Linked DNA regions of Homo sapiens: region 2 is linked to region 1. The links are contacts of gene promoters, found by promoter capture Hi-C in blood cells and fetal thymus (Javierre and others, 2016). All regions are on one chromosome and are shown on one strand. The core of a region is centred on a gene start or on the middle of the fragment in contact, and the rest is flanking DNA. Distances in the headings are between cores, read along the strand shown. Region 1 holds the start of GTPBP4 (GTP binding protein 4). Region 2 overlaps DIP2C (disco interacting protein 2 homolog C).

What was found. The method cuts DNA at HindIII sites, captures the fragments that hold promoters and counts their contacts. A CHiCAGO score of 5 or more calls a contact.
Region 2: a fragment that was not itself captured here is called in contact with the fragment with the promoter of GTPBP4 in region 1 in 1 of 17 cell types (endothelial precursors); the score reaches 6.2 in endothelial precursors.

The regions. Positions count from the first base shown.
Region 1 is chr10:983,602-991,568 of GRCh38, reverse strand. GTPBP4 (GTP binding protein 4) reads right to left here and starts at 3,135. Exons shown (of 17, transcript NM_012341.3): 1 at 3,042-3,135. The coding sequence starts at 3,089. It also overlaps a transcript of LARP4B not described here. RefSeq lists an enhancer at 493-1,388. The HindIII fragment of the contact is 2,419 bases long and covers 1,947-4,365 here.
Region 2 is chr10:501,847-509,813 of GRCh38, reverse strand. All of the region lies in intron 1 of DIP2C (disco interacting protein 2 homolog C), which reads left to right. Among named protein-coding and RNA genes, the nearest start is that of DIP2C-AS2, 120 kb to the left of the region's middle. RefSeq lists an enhancer at 2,278-2,857. The HindIII fragment of the contact is 4,714 bases long and covers 2,621-7,334 here.

The sequences.
Region 1 (7,967 bases), core at 1,886-4,385:
TCCTCCCATTTGTTTATGCATACCCTTGACTTTGAAAGTACATAAAATAACAGGTAAAACTAAAATCCACTGTTTATAATTTCCAAAGAGATGGAAGGGAACTATTTGAGGAGATGAAGGATTTTTGCATGAGTTACCCAGTGCAAAGAGTCAGCACTTCTCTTTAATAAGGATCCGATCCCCAGGATTCCTAAATCCAATGTATCTAGCCACACAATATTACTTGACCTTTTTTCTTGAACACTTTGATTAATTCAACAATTTGATTAACTCAATATTATTTCATACAAAGGTTGTTAGGGATACTTGGGTGCTGAGGATAATGAACAAGATACTGTCCCTTCCTTCACGGAATTCAGGGTCCAGTGACAGAAGTAAACAGGTGGGCACAACACAGTCTGCCAAGTATTGTACTATGAGGGGCACGCCCAGTCTCCCCTCTGGGCCTACAAGTGAGACAAGTAAATGGGTGGTCACAACAGTCTGCCAAGTACTATAAGGGGCACACACTGTCTCCCCTCTGGGCCTACAAGTGAGACAAGTAAACGGGTGGTCACAACAGTCTGCCAAGTACTATGAGGGGCACACACGGTCTCCCCTCTGGGCCCACACAAGATCTTCTCTACGTTCTTCTGCACCTAATGCCGTTCGCACATCCTGAAGGGGGACCAAGTCAAAGGTTACCTACTTCATAAGGTTCCCCCTGACTCTCCAACTTACCACAGCTAACCACACTCTTCTCCTCTCCCAATCCATGTGTGTCCTCCATGATAACAATGTTTTATTTCTAGTATGGTCATACGAGATATGACTTACCCCACTTTTTTTTTTTTTTTTTTTTGAGATGGAGTCTTGCTCTGTTGCCCAGGCTGGAGTGCAGTGGCGCGATCTCGGTTCACTGCAAGCTCTGCCTCCTGGGTTCAGTTCACACCATTCTCCTGCCTCAGCCTCCCCAGCAGCTGGGACTACAGGCGCCCGCCACCACGCCTGGCTAATTTTTCTGTATTTTTAGTAGAGACGGGGTTTCACCGTGTTAGCCAGGATGGTCTCGATCTCCTGACCTCGTGATTTGCCCGCCTCAGCCTCCCAAAGTGCTGGGATTACAGGCGAGAGCCACCGCACCCGGCCTCGACTTACCTCTCTTGAAAATGACTTCCAAAGAGGCAGGTATTTTATCTAATGCATTTTTGTAACACAGTACCCGATGCACAGGACAGGCACTCACTCAACATCTTCTAGAATGAACTGAATACCACACTTTCCCGATGTGATTTTTTTTTTTTACTTCCAATCACCAAACAATTACCATCACCCAGTTTTTAGATAAGTCATCTGTTCTCTAAAAATATAAATCTCACTCCACAGAACAGAAGACGGATGGTGTATAATATATTCTAAAGTTCTCCACATAAGTCAATAACATGAACAAAGTTCATATAATCCAAAGAGCAAATTCCTTCAACAAACCTGAGAGATGGTTGACCAAAAATACAAATAAGACATGACTCCTGCACTCGAAAATACTACAATCTGGCTGGGCACAGTAGCTCATGCCTGTAATCCTAACACTTTGGGAGGCTGAGGCAAGTGAATCACTTGAGATTAGGAGTTCAAGACCAGTCTGGCCAACATGGTGAAACTCCACTTCTACTGAAAATACAAAAATTAGCCAGGCCTGGTGGCGCATGCCTGTAGTCCCAGCTACTCGGGAGGCTGAGGCAGGAAAATCACTTGAACCTGGGAGGCGGTGGCTGCAGTCAGGATCACACCACTGCGCTCCAACCTGGCCAACAGAGCGAGACTCCATCTCAAAAAGAAAGAAAGAAAATACTACAATCGATCAAGAGATGTGCCAGAACAACTGTCAGGAAGAAATAAGAAATGGTGGAGAGAAGTGGGGAAACAACTTTTGCTATGAAGGTAAAATACGAGACTCCCACAAAGCTTTCCAAGGCAAGCTCATCCCGTCCTTGAGACCTGAAGAAAAGGAGGCACTGACGAGGGGAAAACAGTCACTCTGCAGGGACTTCAGTAACTCCCTCTCGTGCAGGAGTCCCTGGGAGGCTCCAGTTGCCCGTCAATGTCTGTGTAATTGCGACCCAAATCGAATGTTCACTACATAAAAACGTGACTTCTTAAAAGTCCTAATACTAGGGCCGGGCGCAGTGGCTCACGCCTGTAATTCCAGCACTTTGGGAGGCCGGGGCGGGAGGATCACCCGGGATCAGGAGTTCGAGGCCAGCTTGGCCAACGTGGTGAAACCCCGTCTCTACTAAAAATACGAAAATTAGCTGGGTGTGGTGGTGCACGACTGTAATCCCTGTTACTCGGGAGGCTGAAGCAGGAGAATCGCTTGAACGCGGGAGGTGGAGGTTGCAGTGAGCCGAGACTGCGCTCCAGCCTGGGAAACAAGAGCGAAAAACTATGTCTCAAAAAAAAAAAAAAAAAAAAAAAGTCCTAATACTCAACACTTGTTGACTCATTCTTGCCACACCAACCAACGCTGTAAAAATTTAGTCTGGGCCTACTATGGTCTGAAAAGGAACAGGTATTCCCAAATCTAACAGTGAAAGAGAATGACTTAAAAATTATGAAACGTTAAATCACGAGAACAACGAACCCAGGATTCCTGAGAGGGGAGGGGGCTACGCCAAACCCAGAATCCGAAGGCTCATCACGGACCACGGAACGCTTCCTCCCTCACATGTCGGGGTCCCCCTCCACTCGCCCACATCGTCACCCGGGGCCCCTCCAGGGAACCCAACTCTGGGTGTACCCCCATCTCTGGGGGCCCTCAGTCTTTGGGTGGACCACGGTCTTAGGTGGACCCCGGTCTCTGGGGGATCCGATCTCTGGTGGACCCCGGATTCTGCTGGGGGAGGGGAAATGATCCCGAGTACGCGGCCAGACGGTCAGGCCCAGGAGCGGGGGATGGGCGAGCGGAAGGCGACCGCTCTCCCACGGCTACAGGCCCGGACCCTCCCCGGGGACCCAGCTGAGGAGAACGCGAAAGTTGCAGTGGCCCTCCCGGGGCCGCCTACCTTGGCGGACGGCACCACCGTAATTTTCTTGAAGTTGTAATGTGCCATGCCGGCAGCCGTATGCACGCGGGTACTTGGCACTCCCGGAACTTCCGCCGTCGGGCGCAGGTGGGACTTCCACTGTCGGGCGGTTGAGGTACGTCACTTCCGGGAGCTCAGCCAATCGTGTTCTGCGTGCTCTACGGCGCTTTCCGCGTCGCACAGCGCACCCGCCCGGCTTGGAGGTCAGCCACGGAGGGCGTGTGAGGGCCTCAGGAGCGAGGGTACAGAGGAGAGGACGCCCGGGTTTTAGGGGGAGCGCGGAGACTAAATTCCTGCTGAGTAAAGCGGGGGTTTCCGACAGACTGCCCTGCGGGTTTCTGGAGCGGGTTCAGGCCCCCAGCCACGCGCCCTGGGCCAGGGTTGGAGGGTCCGGGGTCTTGGGATTTGGGAGTTGCGGGGCTTAGGAGTCCAGAGGGTCTAGGGGATCCGGGAGTCTGGGGGTCCTGGGTCGCGGCGAGCCCCGCAAAGGAGGAGGAAGCCGCGCGTGCGGGGCGTGCCCAGCCTCTGGGTGTGGAGCAGATGACGCCCCTACCCCGGCCTCGCGCGTGGGACTTGATCCCGGGCCGTGGTGAGGAGGCCCTCGCGGCTTCCCTGCAGCCCTGCTTTCTCGTGCTTGTTAAATCCCAAAACGGGCGGAGAAGGGAAAGCCTGATCTAAGGCAAAAGAGGTGCAGCTGGTTCCGCGCAGTGCCTTAGGAGAGCCCAGGGAACAGTTGCGAGAGACAGTCCTGTGGGGTCCAACTGAGGAGAAGGTTGATGAGGATGGAGCCTTTACTGCTTTTATGTTTGTGAATAGAGTGGCCGCTCCCTTTGGGAACCCAGGGCCACATCCCTTAAATTAAACGTTAGGTAGGGCTGACTCAGTCAAGCAGTGTTCAGAGCTGCTGACTATATATTAACTCGTTTAATTTCTGCAACAGCCTCATGAAGTGCATGGGGAAACAAAGGCACACAAGGCTCGAAAGCACCCCGTGGTTGTGCAGCTGACAAGCTAACAGGCAGCAGAGGTGGGCTTTGAACCCAGGCAGCCTGGCTCCAGCAAACCTGCTTCTAACCATTAGCTATACTGCTTCTCACGCATCTGGGATGCCCCCCACTCTCCAATCCTTTTAAACAAGTCCTATTATTCTTACGCGAAAATACCTCTCATAAATTCCCAGCATTCCAATATTGAAAATCATTCTGGGTCATGCTTTTCTCATCTATTAACTATGCTTCCATTTTTGTGTCACAAGGCGGATAAGCATACCTCCTACATCTTTGTGGCACTTCTAAAGGAAGCTTCTAGGGTAATTAGGATTTGCTGGCTATGATCATTTGCTAAACCACAGGACAGTTCTGGCCACCATTTCCGAGATTAGCAAAGCTATGCTCATACTTATTGCCCTTTCTTTTAGGTTCTTGTATGTTTCCTCAACCTCTCCCACTTTCTCTCACTCTGATATAGCCAGTTCCTCTTTTTCTTGTAATCCGGTATTTAGATAAGTCCAGTCAATACTTTGCTTCAGATGGGCAAACATCCTTTCTTTAATTTTTTTTTTTTTTTTGAGACGGAATCTCACTCTGTCGCGCAGGCTGGAGCGCAGTGGCGCCATCTCAGCTCACTGCAACCTCCGCCTCCAGGGTTCAAGCCATTCTCCTGCCTCAGCCTCCCAAGTAGCTGGGATTACAGGCACCTGCCACCACTCCCGGCTAATATTTTGTATTTTTAGTAGAGACAGGGTTTTACCATATTAGCCAGGCTGGTCTCAAACCCTGACCTCAAGTGATCCACCCACCTTGGCCTCCCAAAGTGCAGAGATTACAGGCATGAGCCACCTGCTTTTAACTTGTTCAGCTACAAAGGCATGTCTGTGAATGCACAACCATAATGACTCATCATGGGCCCAGAGCTATAACAATGATAAGGTACCAAGCATCTTACACCATGTGCGTGTTGATGAGAATCAACATCCTTGCCTGTTCTTGTGATTTTGTGGCAGAGTATAGCTTCTTGGGGGCAAGTATGTATTCTACACCACTAGGAGCAAGCTTCTTTATCATACACTTCTGGGCTTCTCTGGGGAAGCCAAACTCTAAAGGCCTTTTCTGAGGAGTGTCGCAAATGCTGCCTGCAGTACGAGGCACATTGCCAGTTCCTGACTGCATTAGCAGGTTCCAGCTGCCAGGACGCCTCTGAGTGTGTACCTTGTGACAGAAAGGTACTTCTCAGCTGTAGTAAAGGATGCTCTCAAGGGTACTCTGCAAAGCTTCTGACTGCGAGGCACTTCTCAGTAAAAAGCTTTGTTTTTCAGACCTTTTTATTTTGTGGGTTTGGTCTTTTCTGTTTTACCTTCTCGTTGCTGTAATTCTGATGGATGAAAGGTACATTTTGCAGAACTGAACTTCCTGCCTGAAAGGAGCCTTTACATGGGGATTAGCCATCAGTAGGCATCCGGTCTTAGAGGGTCCTATGAGTGCTCCATTGGGCCCGTCGGCCACTTCCCTGGATCCCCACAGGAACTCATTCAGAACGAGTCACATGCTGCTTTGTACCTAGATGCTTCCTTGTGTACATCTTGTTTCCAAAAGAAGTAGCCAGCTCTTCGTGGACAGGAACTGTGTCTTACTTTTTTGCCATCCCTCACCTCAGGCAGCACTGCCAAGAGCATTCACAGTGACTGTGGAACTCCGTTGATTGAATGTTGGCTTGAGTAAGTTCCTGATGTAGGGGCTGTAGCGGTTGGAATCAAGCTTCTGCAATACTCAAGTAGTCCTACTGAATTACAGTACTGTCAGACCCCCTCTGCACAACCCTGAAGTGGGTCAGAACTCCACACTGTGCCATAAAGAGGAAAGCTGTCAACAGGGAGGTCTAAGGAAACACCTCCTTAGGTGGAAGGCAGCAATGGCATGAGAGCCACCCTCCGGGCCAAAGGTGCAGCCTGACATTCTCTGCAGAATTACACAGTGAGTTAAGACTGTGAGCTTCATTTCTGAGATACAGCTCCACCCGCTGTGATCCTGGGAAAATGTCTCAGCTTCCCCAAGCCTCTGTTTCTTCACTCTTTGCTCACTTACTATCTACCAGGCATGTTAAAAATACTTTATGTGAATTATTTTAGCTTTTCACTAACCCTATTCTACAGGCATTAATAAGTGAGCAAAGAGATTGTGTATTATTAATTATGCATTATGTATTATCTATGTTCTTATTAGCTGCTTAGTTACAATAATATTTGCTAAACTTTTGTTCTATTCATTAAATTATCGTTGAACCTTAACAACTGCAATGCAGGGAGCCTCCACCATGTGCCAGGTCACTTGCTTTCTTCTCGGGACAGCATAGTGAGGTGGGTGTGATTGTCTCTGTTTCACAGACAAGAGTGCTGGCTTTGAGGTGGTTGAGTGCTTGCTCACCGTCACACAGCTGGAGAGACACAATGAGGTGCGTTCAGGGCGCATGGAACTCCAAAGCCACTCTCCTTTTGCACTGCCAGCCGAGAGTGGCTTTGTTCTTGACCTCTGTAGAGTTATTACCTTGTTTGGTATTTGTTTGTTTGTTTATTTATTTATGAGACAGGGTCTCACTCTGTCGCCTAGGCTGGAGTGCAATGGTGTGATCTTGGCTCACTGCAACCTCCACCTCCCAGGTTTAAGCAATTCTCAGATTTAAGTGCCTCAGCCTCCCGAGTAGCTGGGACTACAGGTACATGCCACCACACCTGGCTACTTTTTGTATTTTTTAGTAGAGGGGAGATTTCGCCATGTTGTCCAGGCTGGTCATGAATTGTTTGGTATTTAAATGGAGGTACATGATGGATTGCACTTGGGGTCATATGCTGTCAATAATCCCCCAGCACCTGTGTTTCACTAAAGCACTGTTTGCATATGCAGACAGGTTGTGTTTCTTCTGTGAGAATTCCGTTCCTGTGCGTGGATCATGACAGGCACCTGTGCTAATGAACTTCTGCCCTTGCTCACGTCAGAGCTGCTGATAAGGGGTGTTTCTATGGGTTGAGTACGAGTCATTCTATTGACACACTGTTAAAAACATTCTTTGCATTCTGCTGTTCCATAAAGGAACAATTTTAGGTTTAATGGAAATCTTGCGATCTCTTTTCCTAGAGAAGATTTGTGATAATAATCATACACGTATTTGGAATGCATGTACTTATGCTTGTATGATCAATTTCCAAATGATTCTAAATATCTGCAGGCAGAATTTCTTAAGATTAGCATTCTGTGCTGTACCCAAAAAGATACTCGAGATAAGCAAAGACAAGTTTCATGTTGCAACAGACATCTGAATCCTTAGTGTTTCTGGAAGCTGGTTAAGCAGGTGGTTGTGATGTCTGACCCTCAGGTTAAAAACAGTGAAAAAAATTCACTTTGATGATGTGACGTCATTGTCACAAGTTTAATAATTGATTTTGAAGGTCTGCACAAGGAAACCATAATGCTTTAGCAATTTCCGTTTTCCAGAGGGAGGAGGCTTAAAATTTCAATTCCAGCCCTGCCACCAACTTCTAGACTAATAGTAAGCTAAGTGCCTTTCCTGCTATTATTTTTAATTAAAAACATATTATTTCCTCACAAAAGCATAGAAGTATAAAAATAATAGTATTCACTATCAGAATGTATGTGTCTGGACAGTCTAAATTATCCTGTGATAACAAATAGTCTCCAAATCTCAGCATCAGTTATTTCTCTCTGATGCTCCACGCCCACTGCTGTGGACCAAATTAAGTCTCCCCAAATTCATACGTGAAAGCCCTGTCTCCCAGTGTTAAGGTGTTTGGAGATGGAGCCTTGGGGAGGTAATTCGGTTCAGAAAAGGTCACGAGGCTGGAGCTCTCCTGATGGAATTAGCACACTTATGAGAAAAGACACCAGAGAGCTGCTC
Region 2 (7,967 bases), core at 3,728-6,227, 480 kb after region 1:
TCCATGCCGAAGCGTGGGCTGGGAGGAGACTGCGGCGCCCCGTCCTCTCCAAGCTGCTCTCCAGGATGGGAGCGACTTTGTGGGGTTTGTCGGCCCTTCTCTGAGGTGTCCTGTGTCTCATGGATCTGCTTATGAGCCCCCTTAGATGCCTCTCTCTCGTCTGGACGAGCACCCTCCAAAACACTGCCTACCACCCGGATCTCCTGGCGCAGAGTGAGGTCACACCTGCAGCCCTTACCGCACAGAGTCCCTGAGATATTCGGCAAGAATGGGAATGGGCTGTGTGTGAGTTTCCGCTGCGGAAGCCGGCTCTGCTCCGTAGTCTGTCTTTGGGGTGTGGGATGTTCCGACCTGCTGTGTCCATCTGGAGCTGCCTCGGGGTGGGAGGGGGAGCAGCGCGGATGGATCCAGGGAAGGACCTGGTTGAATCCCAGCTGCTCACATACTTGTTGCTGGTCTTGGACAAGCTCCTTAGTGTCTCTGAGCTTCAGTTTGTCTGTAGGAGGAGGATGCTGCAGAAGTCTGAAGATATCGGTGCGTGCGGGAATACCTGGCGCGGTTAGGACGGGTTTTCCTTCAGTCTCCTCTATGCCCCTCCCCGGGTGAATCAGTATCCACGCGTGCCACCAGGGAATTACAGTCAGTCTAAAAAACCAATCGACCCCTAGTTGTATGGTCAAGCATCGTGAGTGTCCTTGCCAGGAAATGCCACTAGATATCTTGGGCCTGCTCGTCTGTCCACAGCAGTCCCTGGAACAGGCCGGTTCAGGACATGGGAGGTGGGAGTCAGTGTTCTAGCGAGGACAGGCTGAAGTTAAAAGGCTCATTTACTCTGTGAAGGGGTGCCCAGGATGAGACATCCAAGAGGTGCCAGGTGGCTGACCCTGGAGGTGGACGGTCGGGTCAGAGTGGCCGCCTTCCAGCACTGCTGTTGGAACAGCCGTGTTTTCGAGTGATGCCTTTTTTGGGTCATGCAGCCCTGATCAGTAGTACACAACTTCCCATCTCCAGCCAGTCTCGTCTCGCCATCTCCTGTATGTGCGGTACAGTTGCCTTTAAGTGGCTTCTTCTGGACGCTGCGGTTAGGGTGGCAGCAAGCAAACATGGGAGGCTTTTTTCTTACGTTGACCAAAATACGTGGGGCCAGCTTTGCATGATCCCATTCAGCATCACACTTGTCCATCAGCCACTCACCCATCCATCCATCCCAGAGAGTCCTGGACCAGACCATTGAGTGGTCTTTGCTGCGAAGAGCTTAGCGGCTCACAGGAAATCCGGAACCAGCACAATGGTAACAGTGCAGCAGGACCTGTCATTTATCAAGGCAGTATGCTGGGCCGGATGCGGTATGAAATTATCCAGTTAGGTAAGCACTGTTAGAATTAACCCCCTTTTGCCTACCAGGAAATCGAGGATGGGGGCATTAACGCTGGGGAGCAAGGGAGTAAGGGCACACATGGAGGGGCTGAGGGCCTGGGCACTCTGAGCCTGTGGATCTGCGCCCAGGCTGCACGGGCACCGGAGATGCTGCTCTGGAGTGGGTGAGGGGCTCTGGGGAAAAGATGGAGCCTGACATGGGTAAGATTTGGATATTTTCAGAAGAGATTTTCAGCCTGGAATGAGGGTGTAAGTGACTGAATCGCGGTGGTGAGCCAGAAAGCCTGGCTGCACGAGCTCCTCTGTGGCGTGAGGGAGGAAGGCGTTGGGGGAAGGTGGCTGAGCAGAGGTGCTGGGTCATCAGGAGCTGCTCTGTGCTTGGAAAGGGAGGGAAGGGCAGCACCCTGCACTGGAAGAGCACAGAGACGTGGTTGCAGCTCTTCCTGACCAGGACAGGCACAAATGGTGCTGATGATACAACGCATGGACTCTGTCTTCAGAAAAAGATTGTGGAAAAGTCTTCTCCTGTCTTTTAAAACTTGGGCCCCTCATTTAAACTTGGTGGCCTCAGGTGAATGGTCAGGAACAGTTTCTGAGGATGATGCAGAGATTGTCTGCAGCCTCTGATTGTGCTCAGGTTTTCACAGATGGGGTGGGACATGGGCACTGGGCTGGAATGCTCTAACCTTCGATCTTCAATCGTCAGTACTGAAAGGAATGTGCGGGAACAAACTCACCTGTGCGCATATGTATCGTTTTCAAAGACGGACGAGCTTTTGGGAAATATCTAAAGATTTCAAGTTTTGAAGGAAGCTGAGATGACACTGGAAACATCAGGAATCTTGGCTGATGACCAGGTCCGTCACCGCGCACACAGTCCCTAACCTCGCACGCCTCTGATTGGACACAGCGGGTGACCGGGTCCCTAACCTCACACACCTCTGATAGTGCACAGCGAGTGACCAAGTCCGTAACCTCACGCCTCTGTGCATAGCGGGTGACCAGGTCCCTAACCTCAAAAGCTTCTGATTGGGCACAGCTGGTGACTAGGTCTGTAACCTCGCACAGCTCTGGTTGGACACAGCGGGTGACCAGGTCCCTAACCTTGAAAGCTTCTGATTGTGTGCAGCTGGTGACTAGGTCTGTAACCTCATACGTCTCTGATTGGACACAGCGGGTGACCAGGTCCGTAACCTCACGCCTCTGTGCACAGCGGGTGACCAGGTCCCTAACCTCAAAAGCTTCTGATTGGGCACAGCTGGTGACCAGGTCTGTAACGTCGCATGGCTCTGACTGCACAGTGGGTGACCAGGTCCCTAACCTCGCATACCTCTCATCGTGCACAGCGGGTGACCGGGTCTGTGACCTCACACCTCTTATCGTGCACAATGGGTGACCGGGTCCGTGACCTCACACCTCTTATCGTGCACAGTGGGTGACCAGGTCCTTGACCACACGCCTCTCGTCTTGCACAGTGGTTGACCGGGTCCATGCCCTCACACCTCTGATCATGCACAGTGGGTGACCAGGTCTGTGACCTCACACCTCTGTGCACAGTGTGTGACCATGTCCATAACCTCACACCTCTGATCATGCACAGCTGGCGGGTGCAGGACCCACTTCAGTGAGGGGCTCGTTTCCTGGGTGTGAGGTGGGAACGTTGCGTGGCTCGCTAAGCCCCTCCTCCGTGCTTTGGGGGCTCCAGGCTGTGGCCGGCAAATAGAATGTTGTCCCGGGAGGCCACTGTGTGTTGGGGGATAGGAGGCAGCTGCAGACTGCAGGAGTGCCCAGCCCCTTGGTGCAGGGTGGTGTAGGCATGCGTGTTGCTGGGAGTGCCTTCTGCATGTGAGTACTGGGGATTCTATTCTGGTACGTTGGCGTATCATTCAGCGTCCCCATCACATTTGAGATGAACTGTGCTCTGTGAGTGGCCCTGCCCTGGGTCATGACCACACGCTGGACTTGAGCTGTGGGAGCCACATGGACAGTTGAAAGCCTCAGACCCCAGGGCTACACACACTGAGATTTCCCAACTGCCTCTCCCCAGGCCTTGGGCTGATCCCCCTTGCTGCTGCTGTCCCAACCCCTGACATGGCACAGCTTCCCTCTCAGAAGATGTCATGCAGCTTGTCTGCTCTTCATAAATCTTATGCACATTTGGATGCCTTAGCTTCATGCAGAAGTCCTGCAAGCAGGAGAAAATGGAGCCTTGACTCTGGGCTGGTGGTCTCCAGGCATCTCTCTCCAGCTGCATCCCAGCAAGTCAAGGTTATTTAAATGTGTCTTCCGAAGGGTAACGAGCATGGGAAGCATGTCAATGCCATGCAGTGTGAGGTGGTTCTGGGAATAACAGTACCTAGCAGCACATACCAGCACTCCCTTGTGCTGCCAAATGTGACATCGTGTAGATGTCACAACCTCCTTTTGTCACCTGCGTTCCTAATCCCCTGGATTTCTCAGCTTCTTTACTTCTCCAGGAGAAAACCTGCCCCATTGTCCTGTTACCTCTGAAAGGGAGTTTTTACAGCAGGAGATGATGCTGTAGCTGTCAGTGTAGGCACATGCAGCATCCTACTGTTGTCAGGTGCGCCCAGAGGAAATATGGCTGGGCAGGTGGTCCCCATCTCCTGTGGTGTCAGGGGCACCCACAGGAAGCACAGCTGGGCAGGCAGCTCTGTCTCCCTGGTGTCAGGTGCACCCAGAGGAAATATAGCTGGGCAGGTGGTCCCCATCTCCTGTGGCGTCAGGGGCACCCACAGGAAGCACAGCTGGGCAGGTGGCTCCATCTCCCTGGTGTCAGGTGCCCACAGAGGGAATATAGCTGGGCAGGTGGTCCCCATCTCCTGTGGGGTCAGGGGCACCCACAGGAAGCACCGCTGGGCAGGCAGCTCCATCTCCCTGGTGTCAGGTGCACACAGGAATCACAGCTGGGCAGGTTGTTTATTGCCAGGAAGTACAGCTGGGGATCAGTCGAGAGCCTCAGGCAGGGGGTTAATAGATTGGAAAGGTTGAGAACCTTGGCTTGATCACTAACACACAAATTGTGGCAGTAGAAGGTGGAGATGCCCCTGTCCGTTCCTCAAATGTTTTGCTTTCTCCTGTTTCCTGAAGAGCGTCTTGTTGCCTCCTAAGATAGCTCCTGCGTGTATATCTGTATATCCTTGTAGAGGGACTAGAGACACTGCTGGGAAGTTAGTGACTCTGTGTTGATGAGGTGCCGGTTATTAGTCTGTTGCCTTAAAACATCAGCAATTGGAATTGCTCCTCGGAACATGACTGGACCCGTTGCCGTTTTCTGTACAGTTTTCTTTTGGGGAGATGCACACGGTTCCGGGAAGGGTGCTGGGCTGCAGTAATATGGGTGTGGACACAGGTCCCATCAGAATAGTATCCCTTGGAGGGCAGGGTGGGGATCCCGCGGGTTCACGGCGGTTTTGCTGAATGAATGAATGAATGAATGAACGAACCTAGCACTGAGAGTCACATGAGCTCATATGGAAACAGCTTGGAGTGTTGAGAAATGGAGATTGAAGAGCTCACCTCTTCTCTGAGTATGACGGGGTCAGCACCGCTGGAGCTGAGGGTTTGACATGCAATGAAAGCCGTGATGCAGCCATAGTGCGATTTGGTTTATATAGCTATTGCCTTCTGTTATGAAGCTGAAAAGAACCAGGTTAGCGGCCACCTGCTACTCAGGCCTTATGCTTTCTTAGGAAACAGTAAGATGTACTAAATTTTTAGTGTTAAAGTGACAGAACATGGGAACACGGGAAGCGTCTCATCTTGTCACTTGTGACTTGGACACGGAGCCCGTGGGTGCTTCTCTCCATGGTCAGACTTGGTCATGGAGCCGTGGGTGCTTCTCTGCATGGTCAGACTTGGTCACGGAGCCGTGGGTGCTTCTCTGCATGGTCATCTTGCAGCTTCTGAGTCCCATCCTCGCTCTCCCGGCCTAAGGTGGCTGTGCTAGGGATCACACCTGCAGGTCTGACGGCAACATTGTGTGCTGGGTTTCTCTCCCAGGACTTCCAGGTAGTTCGTGCCTGGAATAGTTCCATGGTAGCAGGGTATCAGCGGGTGGCCAGCCTCGGCACGCCTGCATGGATTTGCCGTCTCGGGGGTGGGAGCCCCATGGCAGACGGCTGTTTCCCTTGCGTGCCTCTTCCAGCGTGGCCTTTATTCTCCACAGGGCGTTGGAACTGATTTTTGCACAACAGTGATTTGACAGTGATTGATACGCTGTGGGTCTCCAGCCCAAGGAGATGGGGATAAATACTCTTTATTGCTCTTTCATGCTCTGGTTAGGAAGGCAGTTAGGTTGAAGGCTGCAGTTACCACCTGTGTGTGTCGTGAGATGAAGAGAGAGTATTTCCATGAAATCCTCTCAGGTTACAGAATTAGACCAGTTGTATCTATAACCCAGAAGTTGAAAGCAGTTGACTTTAAGTGTGATCAGGAATCTGGAATTTAATTTCTGAGTAAAATAATTACTGTGGAAATGAGTCTTTGGACTTGGAATTGAAATCAATGGTTGTAAATTTAGGGTAAGTCACAGTAATGGGTTTAGACAAAACGTCTGATGTAGGCGGCAGAGATTTTCAGGTGTATATAGAACCGTGATGAAAACCATAGGGGACAAAGGAGGATTGTCCTGTCCTGAAAGATGTAAAAATGCGGTTACAAATGCAGACCTCAGTGTGCATATAGAGGCCAGCAAACGTTAACTCGGTGTTTGGCACAGCAGAGGGGTAAGAGCCGAAGGAATATTGCTGGATGTTCTTCAAATGACTCTTCCCTCTCAGGGTGGAAGCTGTGGTTAGCACCCACTGGTTTTGGGTCTGTCAGTGACGACTCCTGGATGGTCAGGTGGTGCTCTCAGAGAAAGAGGCTAGGAACACTTCCATGGTTTTCCGCCAGCTTTAAGATACATCTTTGTAGCCCTTGGTTCCATTTGTTTCTCCCTTGTAGTTTTATTTTGCTTGTTAAATTTATGTATAGTAGCACTGCCACTCTCTTTTGTGGTCAGTTCTTTTAGTTTCCGAGTGCTTATTATGTCCATCCACTTCATTGAAGTGTCTGTTCGATCTTTGCCAGTTTTTAAATTGGAACGTTTATTGTCCTGTTTCTTTCCCTTTCATGTAACTTTTAGCTTGTCTGCATCTACAGAAAGTCCTGGCAGGATTTATGTTGGAATCATGATAAGTCCGCAGGTCGGTGTCCTGGCGGGATTTATGTTGGAATCGTGGTAAGTCTGCAGGTAGGCATCCTGGCGGAATTTATGTTGGAATTGTGGTAAGTCCGCAGGTCAGTGTCCTGGCGGGATTTATGTTGGAATCGTGGTAAGTCTGCAGGTAGGCGTCTTGGCGGAATTTATGTTGGAATTGTGGTAAGTCCGCAGGTTAGTGTTCTGGCGGAATTTATGCTGGAATTGTAATAAGTCTGCAGGTCGGTGTCCTGCCAGGATTTATGCTGGAATTGTGGTAAGTCCGCAGGTCAGTGTCCTGGCGGGATTTATGTTGGAGTTGTGGTAAGTCTGTTGGTCAACGTGGAGAGAATTGGTGTCTTGACTGTGTTGCCGCTTCTCCTTGGACTCGTGGCTCAGTTGAGGTAGCTCTTTCCTTTCTTTCTTCAGTGTTTTGTGGTTTTCTTCATACACATCCTCTGTGTGCTTTGTTAAATGTATACCTAAGTGTTTTTTATACAGCTACTGTAAATAGTGTTGTTTTTAACATTTAGGTCCCAAATACTAATTGCCAATACGTAGAGTACACTTTGACTGTGTGCTGTGACTTGGCTGAACTCAGGTATTGGATCTAGGACTGACTTTTGTAGATCCCTTGGGAATTTTTATACGTAGGCTTTTGGTGTGACTTGAGTTTCCTCCTTTCTGTTTTCAGTTTCTTTGATTTGTGCTCATTATGATGTCTTTTTCTGGCTTTGAGTTTAACATAGAAGCTTAGATTATGGACCTGAGACCTTACTTTTTTCGAATATGAGCCTTTCGTCCTATGAGCTTACTTCCCATCATTATTTTGGCTGCATTTCATAGATTTTAATTTTTGTTTCAGTTCACTTGAAAAGTATTTTCCTTTGAACACTCATGGTGGTTTTATTTAGTTCACCCAAATCTCATTTTAGCAAAAGATAAAAATTCATGTAGGTTTAGTTCCTGTGTGTGCCTCATAATATCTTCACATTCTGTGCATTGACCAGTAAATGATTGGGCTTATCAGGGAGATGGTTGCATGGTATATTGGTGTTGTAAAAACTATGATGTGGGAATTTGAATGTTTTTGAGACAGGGTCACTATCACCCATGCTGGAGTATAGTGGTGGAATCATAGCTCAGTGCAACCTCGACCTCCCAGGCTCGAGCAATCCTCCCACCTCAGCCTACTGAGTAACTGAGACTACAGGTGCATGCTGTCATACCCAATTAATTAATTTTGTTTTTTGTAGAAATGGAGTTTCACTATGTTACCCAGGCTGGTCTTAGACTCCTGGGCTCAAGTGATCCTCCCACCTCAGCCTCCCAAAGCACTGGGATTACAGGTGTGAGCCAGCACACCTGGCCAGGAATTGAAGTGCCA